Regions from separate parts of the Homo sapiens genome. Here region 1 is linked to region 2. Evidence: promoter capture Hi-C in human tissues and cell types (Jung and others, 2019). All regions are on one chromosome and are shown on one strand. Each heading gives the region's core, a stretch centred on a gene start or on the middle of the fragment in contact. The rest is flanking DNA. Distances are from core to core; before and after follow the strand shown.

The links. The method cuts DNA at HindIII sites, captures the fragments that hold promoters and counts their contacts. A contact is called where the count stands out against the background at its distance.
Region 1: a fragment that was not itself captured here is called in contact with the fragment with the promoter of ZNF454 in region 2 in 1 of the 25 tissues and cell types used here (pancreas).

The regions. Positions count from the first base shown.
Region 1 is chr5:178,976,493-178,981,495 of GRCh38, forward strand. GRM6 (glutamate metabotropic receptor 6) reads right to left here. Exons shown (of 11, transcript NM_000843.4): 11 at 1,835-5,003. It also overlaps a transcript of ZNF454 not described here. Among named protein-coding and RNA genes, the nearest start is that of GRM6, 16 kb to the right of the region's middle. The HindIII fragment of the contact is 3,460 bases long and covers 241-3,700 here.
Region 2 is chr5:178,939,234-178,944,408 of GRCh38, forward strand. It overlaps ZNF454 (zinc finger protein 454), which reads left to right and starts at 1,965. Exons shown (of 5, transcript NM_001178089.3): 1 at 1,965-2,211; 2 at 3,452-3,591. The coding sequence starts at 3,559. ZNF454-DT (ZNF454 divergent transcript) reads right to left here and starts at 1,782. Exons shown (of 1, transcript NR_186409.1): 1 at 1-1,782. The HindIII fragment of the contact is 17,658 bases long and covers 1-5,175 here.

The DNA.
Region 1 (5,003 bases), core at 721-3,220, 37 kb after region 2:
GATGGGGTCCTGGGACTGCTCAGCTGTGGGGCTGGGTTAATGAGTGGGGTCTGTGTGGGCAGTGATTGGTAGGACTGGGAGGATCAATGGTAGGCTAATGGGGCCAGCAATTTGGGCACCTCTGCAGGGTGCATTAAGGAGACTCTGGCTTTTAGTGACTGTGGGAGGAATGAGTATCTTGCCCAAGGTCACTCATCTAGCAGAGCTGGAGTTGACCTCAAGAAGACTTAACCATGACACAGTGCAAGGTCAAGCTGTGAAAGCTGACTTAAAGAAGTACACAGGGCATGGGCAAGACAAGGTCTGTGTGCCCTGGAAGTTTTACCTGTCTTACCTGTCTGCAGACCAGAATGGGAAAAATAACTCAGATGTTGATACTACAGGTATATTCAGTATTTGAGAGCTCTGATCAGACCCAATCTGGCAGATTGTATCAGTGCACAGTGCCTGGGGCCGTGTTCCCCTAGACTAATGTGCCCTCTCTGCTGTTTCTGTTAGGAGAGTCTGCAGGTAAATTTGAGAATAAACCACAGCCAGATGGAGGTGACAGGAGATGGCTGGGACCCTAGCAATGGGACACAGCACCACGGTGCCATGGAACGGTGATTTTTATAATACTATGTAGGATGAATAAGAGGGAAAAGATACAAGAAGCAGAAAGACTAGTTAGTATTCTGACAGAATAATTGCTATAGGTTGAATATTCATGTTGCTCCAAAATGCATATGGTGAGATCCTAACCCCCATTGTATGGTATTTGGAGCTGGGGCCTTTGGGAGGTTATGAAAGTAGAGCCCTCGGGAATGGGATTAGAGCCCTTATAAAAGAGACCCCAGGGTGCCCTCACACTTCCCACCATATGAGGACACAGCAAGGGAGTGCTGTTTAAGAACAAGCAGGCAGCCCTCACCAAATCCACTGGTGTCTTGCTCTTGGACTTTCCAGCCTCCAGAACTATGAGAAATGTCTGTTTTTTAGAAGCCACTGAGTCTATGGTACTCTTTTATAGCAGCCTGAATAGAGTAAAACAGTAATCCACAAATGAAGTGATGAGGCTTAAAATTTTCAAATTCAGTCTTCTTTTTTTTTTTTTTGGAGACAGAGTTTTTCTTTGTTGCCCAGGCTGGAGTGCAATGGCACGATCTCAACTCACAGAAACCTCCGCCTCCCGGGTTCAAGCGATTCTCCAGCCTCAGCCCCCCGAGTAACTGGGATTGCAGACATGTGCCACCATGCCCAGCTAATTTTGTGTTTTTAGTAGAGATGGTGTTTTGCCGAGATGGTGTTTCGCCATGTTGGCCAGGCTGGTCTTGAACTCCTGGCCTCAAGTGATCCACTCACCTCAGCCTCCCAAAGTGCCAAGATTACAGGCATGAGCCACTGCACTCAGCCAGATCCAGTCCTTTTACTAATTTACTTCTCTACACCCTTGCGTGCCTTTTAGAATTCTATCCAACTGGTCAGTTTCTTCTTATCAGAGCCTTATTCCTTCTTGGTTCCTATCCCTTACATTTCTTCAGCCTTTTCTCCACAGGGTGGAATGTCATTTTTGAAACCCCCCAAGCTACTTGTAATAAGCATCAGTATTCCACTCTGGCTGTCCATACTACAGCAGTTTTTCCCCTGTCAAAGCCCAAGAGATAGAAAATATTTAGTTTGGAATTTTTCACGTTTAGAAACAAAGGTATCAATATAACAAAGAGTATTTGTGAAGCAGTTTCATTCTATAAAATGATGAGAAGATTCACTTGGAATTGTGCATTTTATTCCATTTTTGAAGAAGTTTTATGAAACAATATCTGTATAAAGAAGCAACCGAAGACCTAAGTCAAACTTTTGGGAAAAGTTAAATTTATTGAACAGGAAGTAACTGAATAAAGTCAGTTACCTGGACTCTTTACAGTAAGCAATGAATGTAATAAATTAAAGGGAAATTTCTAAAGAGCAAAAAGGATAAGAAATGGGACAAAGCTATAATAAATGTGTCAGAAGATTCACACAAGTGAGACAGCCTAAGAAAATGGTTACTATACAGAAGCTCTTCTGTAGAAGTCTCAACACAGTGGACCACAGGTGAGACCTTATAAATAGGTGGTTAAAGCTTACATCAGAACGTAATCTTACTCTGCTTTAGAGCTCTCATCCCAGAGAGGAACACTGCAATTTTAATTGTGTAAACATGGAATAAGCCTCCAACCCAGAACTCCATTTTCACTGGAACATATAATTCATACAAATAATTCAAGGGCAACAAATGGGACAAAACCTTCGGTGCAGGTCAGCTCTCACTCGACATAAGAGAAACCACACTGGAAGAATGCCTTATAAATTCCACACATAGAAGAAAACCCACAAAACTTTATTCAGGGGTCCAAATAAATTGGACCTCAAAGAATTCAAACCCATGCATGCAAAAAAACAGGAAAATCTTTAGGGAGCTGTCAACCTCCACTGAACACCACAGAAATGATCAAAGAGGCTAGGTGCGATGGCTCACGTTTGTAATCCGAACACTTTGGGAGGTGGAGGCAGGAGGATCGCTCGAGCTCAGAAGTTCGAGACCAGCCTGGGCAACATAGTGAGACCTCGTCTCTACAAAAAATAAAACATTAGCTGGGTATGGTCGTGCGCACCAGCTACTCAGGAGGCTGAAGCGGGAGGATTGCTTGAGCCCAGGTCGAAACTTCAGTGAGCTATGATCGTGCCACTGCACTCCAGCCTAAGAAATTGAGCAAGACCCTATCTCGAAAAAATAAAATAATAACATAAAGAAATGATCACAGGCAGAAACTGTATGCACACACCGAGTGTGGAAAAGCCCTCTTGTGGAAGTCAGTTATTTGTGTACATCAGAAAATTCTGGAAGGAGAGAAACCTTGTGAAGGTACTAAATATGACAACATCTTCAGTAACAGAGGATGTCCCCCTGTACCCAGAATGGTGCATGCTGTGGAGATACCCTGCAAGTAGACCGAATGTGAGAAAGCCACAGGAGTACATGGGCCTCGCGGTGCATCAGAGTTCCTGCCAGAGAGGCCCACAGGCATGAACATGGCAGAGTGTGAAAGTCGTCTGCGGGAAGCCAGGACTCTATGCCAGAAACTTCACACTGGGGAGAAATCCTCAGTGCAATCAGTGTAGAAATGCCTCTACTAAGAACTGCTTCTGATTCTGAATCACAGAGTTCACAGTGGAGAAAACCACATGAATGTAAAACTGTGGAAAAGTTTTCAGCTAGAAGCCAGAGCGCACTGCACACCAAAGAATTCACACTGGGAGAGACATGAGAAAACAGCAAATGCAGGAAAACTTTCCCTTGGAGATCAGAGCTCACTGATCTCAGAGTTCATACAGGAGAAGAGCCCTATACAATCACGAGGGTGGAACCGCCTTTGGCAAGAAAACACGCCCCATTACCCATGAGAGAGCTGCACAGGAGAGAAACCCTATGGAATAAATAATTCTGGAAAGCATTCAGCAACAAATGAAACGTCCTAATGTGCACTATAGAGAAGCCCTAGGAACACAACAAATGTGGAGAAGGAGAGTCAGTAGCGCAACAGAAATGTTTCTCAGAGGAGAAGCTTTTAAGTTAATTACTTAAAACCTGCAGAAGCACCTAGTCCCACGGTCAAAACCAACTGCGCACCAGAGAAGCTGCATGGGAAAGTTTGTATGTTGGATAAAGTGTGGTTCACCCTCAAAACTAGCTCCAGACATCACAGACTAGAGAATGTATACTGATCTTAAACAGTGGTCAATTTAACAAATGTAAATTCTACTCCCAGGGACATAAAACTCCATAACTTAAACCAAGCTTTTTGTAAAAACTATCAGTGAAAAACAAATGTGCGTGCATCTGCAGCCCAAGCCTCTTCCTCCCCAGGCCTGGCGCTCAGCTTGCAAATGGACTTCCCAGTACCTATGAGGAATGAAGGGTTTCCATACCCGTCCTGAGCCATCCACTTGGGATTCACCCTCACCACGGCCATGACTCTCTGTCACTGCTCCCAACCTGGAGCTCCTAAACCCATCCCCAACCCGAACACAACACAAATGCACCCCTGCTCCTTGTTCTCACATCACTAACATTACACACGTGTATCTGAATTTCTTCAGGTTTGGGGGTTTTTTTGGTGTTTTTTTGTTTTGTTTTTTTGAGACAGAGTCTCGCTCTGTCACCCAGGCTGGAGTACAGTGGCACAATCACAGCTCACTGCAACCTCCACCTCCCAGGTTCAAGCGATTCTCCTGCCTCAGCCTCCCAAGTAACTGGGATTACAGGCACCCACCATCACACCTGGCTAATTTTTGTATTTTTAGTAGAGACAGGGTTTCACCACATTGGCCAGGCTGGTCTCGAACTCCGGACCTCAGGTGATCCACCTGCCTCGGCCTCCCAAAGTGCTGGGATTACAGGTGTGAGCCACCATGCCTGGCCAAGGTTGGGGTGATTTAAGGGAGTACACAGAGGGGAGGAAAACAGCTGTACTCTAAGTCTGACCTTGCCCAATCCCGGGGGGATGGGGGAAAGCCCATGGCATTGGGAATCTCATGGGGGCGCACCCCAGTTCCTCAGCTCACTCCCGCGCCCACTGCAGGCCCTTCCCATGCTCACAGGGGTCTCACCCAGGGTCTCTCCCTCCGTGCCAGAGGAATCCTACCCAGGCCTGAGTGCCTCCATCCAGATGCACAGCCCCAGGTCTCCTCTTGCTGAGACAGCTCCTCCTCCACTCCAACCCCATGTTTCATTCTGGGGTCTACACGTTCTTCCACACTGCCCAATCCCCAGGTTATGGGGGTTGACTGAGGGGAGGAAATCTCCCGCAAACCAGGCAAAGCCCAGGGCTTCATCATCCTCTTTGGACTTCGGATGAGAGAATAAGTTTAGTCCCTTTCTAGAGCTAGAACCTTCTCGGTGGCTGTTTCCCACCATGGGAAGCGAGTCTGGTCTGTGGTGAGGAAGCATGAAGCTCACATGCTGGAATCGGGGTAGAGCTGGG
Region 2 (5,175 bases), core at 715-3,214:
CAACATGTAGTTAGTGCTCAATACATATTATCATTCTTAAATTCCTGAAAACAATAATATCCAAACTCCTGAGCATAGCACCCAAAACCCTTCAATATCTTAGAATCATTAGGCTCTCAAAGCAAATGCCTTGTGGAAAGGTTATATAATTGTGGGAGGCTACTTGTAATTGTGGACTGCTGTCATTGCCTCCTCATTGGTCTTCCTGTATCCCCTCTAGCCCCACCACTGTCTGCCTTCTTTGAAGCTGACCAGTGCGTCTATCAAAACGTGCCCAGCCATGTCACTCTTTCAAATCTAATCATTTCCAGGCACAGAAATAAATCCAAATTTCCTTCCTTCAAGGCCTGTAGTTACTCCTGCAACAGCATCTCGCAGTCTTCCTTGTTCAGTAGGCCCTCGCCAGTCATACTGACCTTGCCAAGCCTGGAGTTCACCAAGCACACTTCTCTCTGGTCAGCATTTCTGTTCCCTCCCTTTAGAAGGCACTTTACCCATACAGTCACATCGTTTCTTCCCTCACTGTATTCAAATCTCTGCTCAGGTGTTACCTCCTCAAAGAGAACTTCCAAAACTGCTGCTTGAAATAATTCCCCGCCCCATCACACCCTAACCCCTAACAGTAGTGTTATCACTACCAGATAAATACTTTCTACTTGTCTGACCCCTCCTCTAGTACAATTAAAACTCCATGAGTGCAGGGTTTTCACAGCTATTTCTCCAGCCCCTGGACTCGGGGTTCTTACTCTCTGGAGCCCAGTTTGAGTGACCTGGAGTCACGAGGGAGGCGAGAGAGAAGGGTTACCAGCGATACTCACACAACATCCTCCCCCTCTGGTGCTTTGCCGGGTCCCTGGGAACTGCTACAGGGGCTGCACAGCGGCTGACCCTGGCCTTGTCAAGCACTTGACACATAAGTGCTCCAAAGTGTCTATGGAATGAAATCTTCAATAAAACTCCAAACAGAATGCTGTAGTCACTGACACTGCTTCCTAAAACGTGGCCAACAATTCCGTATGTGACAAACAGGTCACATTCTTGATTTTTTTTAACGACCAACAAAGTTAAAACCCTCTCATCTTTCCTTCCTGAGCTCCATGCAAATTACCTATTCAAAAGCAACTAAGTATCTCCAGTTGGATATTCTTAGGCATCATCTCATCCTTGCCAGTCTCTGCAAAATATGGTCGACAAAAATAAATACCACCTTCTTAAATACCACCCAGCTGTCCAAGATGGAGACTTCCTGGCATCCAGGCGCCTTCCTCTCCCTCGTCCCCACCTCTGAGAAGTTCCCAAGCACGAAGTGTTCTGCGTCCCGAACATTCCAGGGGCCGCCAGCCACCATGGGCTCTGTCCTGAGGTGCCAAGCAGGACATCCCTGCCCGACATCCTTGTCCTCCCGCACCGCACACGCGTTAGTGGCTGTGGCGTCGCCACCCCAGCACACGCTGGCCCGCCCGCAGTGCCAGGCTGGAAGTGTCGGGCGCTTGCCAGGCCAAGGGGCAATTCTGTTGCCTTCCAGGCCTTTTCGGCGCGGTCCCAGTCAGGAACGCGCCCTGTCGCCTCCCACTCCGTCTTCCGGACCCTCCCGATCCTCTCTCGTCAGCGATCGGGCGTCGCTCCCCTGGACTAACCTCCCTTGCCCCATCTTCAGCTTTTCGCTGATCTGCATCTTCCTGCGCCTTAGTGCAAGGCAGAGACCTGGTTCTAAAGCGAACGGAACGGAACCGATTCTGTAAGTTGCAATGAGCGCGCTGAGGTCGGCGTGGAGGGGTCTCTGGGAAAGGTAGTTTCCGCGCCTAAAGCGCCGGGGCCGGGCCCTGTTCCCGCAGGCGCAAGGCAGCACTGTCTCCGCCGATTGTCCCTCTGGGAAGTGGAGTCTGGCCGGCGGAACTGCAGCAGCCCTGAGACTTGTGGGAATTCGGCCCAAGGGTTCCCAGGGCAACGCGCAAGCGCAGTTCGGCTCCCGGCTGCAGACTCCAGCTCATTGTGTTCTGACTGCGATGTGGCGCTTGCGATCTCTCGCCGCCGGCAGAGGCTCCTCGAAGAGCGACACGGGGCTGACCAGGCACGGTGGTCAAAGCCGCAGAGGGAGAGCGGGAGCGGTCGTGAGGTCGTCTGGGGAGAAGGGCGGAGGCAAAGCCGAGGAGGTGCGGGTTGTGGTCCATTCTGGAGGACGCTGATCGAATGCCCCAAACTTCCCGGAATGTATGTCTGAGATTTGATCCCAGAGAGGGAGGACGGCCAGGGGTGGTCATCCTGGGCTGAGGGTCGAGTCTGTGAGTGCCTGTGGAGGAGATGGAGCCAGGGCCTCTGGCATGTGTCTTGGAGCGGACTCCGAGAAGCCCAGGGTTTCCTCTCAGGTGATAGATACACGCCTGGCGTGGTTCCGAGTCCTGCGCCAGGAACTCGCCAAGGCCGGAGGCAGCCGCTGCGCAGCCCCTGCCACAGCCCCCGAGGGACCTGGCGAAGCGGCAGGGGCGGGACGGGGCTGTGTGTGATTAGGGTTCCTAACCCTTCCCTCTCCCCTCCCGCCCAGCTCACACAAACGCCGCTTCTGCCCACCCGTGACTCCAGGCCACCCAGACTGGGCCCCAGAGAGTGAGAACACTGAGGCCAGAGAAGGGTTTGCCTGAGAGGCTTCGACAGTGAAGAGCCTTCTTAGCCTCCTTTCTGAGGAGGAAGAAGACCACCCTCCTTTTCCTCTTCTCCTGTCACTGCCAGATAAGGCAGCTGTTCCAAAGCCGCAGAGGGAGAGCGGAGCGGTCTTCCAATCCAGTCGAACCCAGACACTGCCCTCCGTTGCCTCTCCCCAGCGCTCCCACCTTTTCGGGTACATCCTGGTGGGTTCTGGAGCTGAATAACTTGTTAAAGAGATAATTCTCGGCCGAGTGCGGCGGCTCACGCCTGTAATCCCAGTACTTTGGGAGGCCGAGGCGAGCCGATCACCTGAGGTCCGGAGTTCGAGACCAGTCCGACCAACATGGTGAAATCCCGGTCTCTACTAAAAATATAAAAAATTAGCCGGGCGTGGTGGCGGGTGCGTGTAATCCCAGCTACTCCGGAGACTGGGGCGGGAGAATCGCTTGAACCCGGAAGGCGGAGGTTGCAGTGAGCCAAGATCGTGCCACTGCACTCCAGCCTAGGTGACAGAGCGAGACTCTGTCTCAAACAAACAAACAAAAAAAGAATTCTCTTGAGATCGCTCAGTGAGGCTGAAGGGAAAGACCAGAGGGTGGGTGGAAGGCATGAGAACTGGACCTGGAGCAGGCTTTCTGCAGGGAAAAGTCAATGTATAGTACCCTCAGAAGGAGGAGAGAGAATGGGGAGCAAACAGGAACCAAAACACTCACTGCTTGGGGTACTGGAGGCCTCCCAGGATGTGAATGCTCACTGCCTCGCTCTGGACTGCTGTATGAGAGCTTTTGACCCAGTTCTCTCCTAATAGCAGGTGTGTGGACCCTTCTAGCCTGAGGAGTCCTGCAGGTGTGAAGCTCCACACCTGCCTCCATAGCACTTTGCCTGTCCCTAAGAGGGCTCATCGGAGAAGAAAGAATGGCTGTCAGCCACCTGCCAACCATGGTCCAGGTGAGTGGGGGTTTCTTCCCCCTAAATTGCTTTCTGGATTTGAAGAGTGTGGCATGTTTGCTTCCTCAGACCGGGAGCTTTATTCCCAATCCAGTCCCACCCAGACACTGACCTCAGTTGCCTCTCCCCAACCAACACCCTCCAACCCCGCCCCATATCCGGCTCATCCTGGTGGGTGTTGCAGCTGTATAACTTGCTAAAGGTCACATAAATGTCACAGCTGGGACTGGAACCCAGGTCCCTGTGAAATCAAAACCTGTACTCTTTTCACTAGCAAGTAAGATTAGGGATCTGAAGTGGTAAAAGCATGTATTAGTCCCTTTTTACATTGCTCTAAATAAATATCTGAGGCTGGGGAATTGATAAGAAGTTTAATTGGCCCACGGTTCTGTAGGCTGTACAGGAAGCATGGTGTCAGCATCCACTTCTGATGAGGACTTTAAAAGCTTCCAATCATGGCAGAAGGTGAAGGGGGAGCAGGTGTATCACACGGTGAGAAAGGGAGCAAGAGAGAGAAGTGGGAGGTCCTAGACTCTTAAACAACTGGATCTCACGTGAACCAACTGAGCGAGAATTCACTCATCACCAAGAGGATGGCACTAAGCCATTCACGAGGGATCTACCCCCATGATCCAACACCTCCCACCAGGCCCCCCCTCCAACATTGGAGGTCACATTTCAACAGGAGAGTTGGAAGGGACATACATCCAAACTATATCAGGGCAGTATCTCACACAGAGCTCAAAGAAGGGCATTGTAGGAACACTTTTCTGGGGAGGTGTGATTTACTAGACTCTTTTTCTTTTATGACATTTGGTTTTTTTACCAATGAAATTATTCAAAAGACTATTCTGCCAAAAAGTCCTATAAATTCCTAAAACGCTTTGAGCAGTCCTAGCATCTTTAGAATAAGAATATGGGCCAGACGCGGTGGCTCACGCCTGTAATCCCAGCACTTTGGGAGGCCAAGGCCAGCGGATCACGAGGTCAGGAGATCGAGACCATCCTGGCTAACACAGTGAAACCCCGTCTCTACTAAAATTACAAAAAAAATTAGCTGGGCGTGGTGGTGGGCGCCTGTAGTCCCAGCTACTCGGGAGGCTGAGGCAGGAGAATGGCGTGAACCCAGGAGGCGGAGCTTGCAGTGAGCCAAGATTGTGCCAGTGCACTCCAGCCTGAGTGACAGAGCGAGACTCCATCTCAAAAATAAAAAATAAAAAAGAATATGGACTGTGCTTTGAAGGAGACAGCATTCATTTGGGCATATACATTCTGATACATTTGGTTAAATTGTTCTAATTCCTTCACATTTAAACCTCCCCAAGGACTGGGATGTGTGGCAGGAATCACTGGAAAGGATGACCAGCTAGGTGGGAGCGCCATGTTCAACATAGCACAGCTCACCGGCTGTTCCCCTCCTCCTCTTGGCTTCTGACTTGTCACTTAGGACCCTTCTCATGCACCACTTTTTCTGCAAAACCTGTCCGCACCCACAGTGCCAGTCTACTGTGATATTTTCCTTCCTTAACCTTTTCCTCAAAGTCACTGTCGGTGTCATACAATTTATCTTGTGTTTATAGGCTG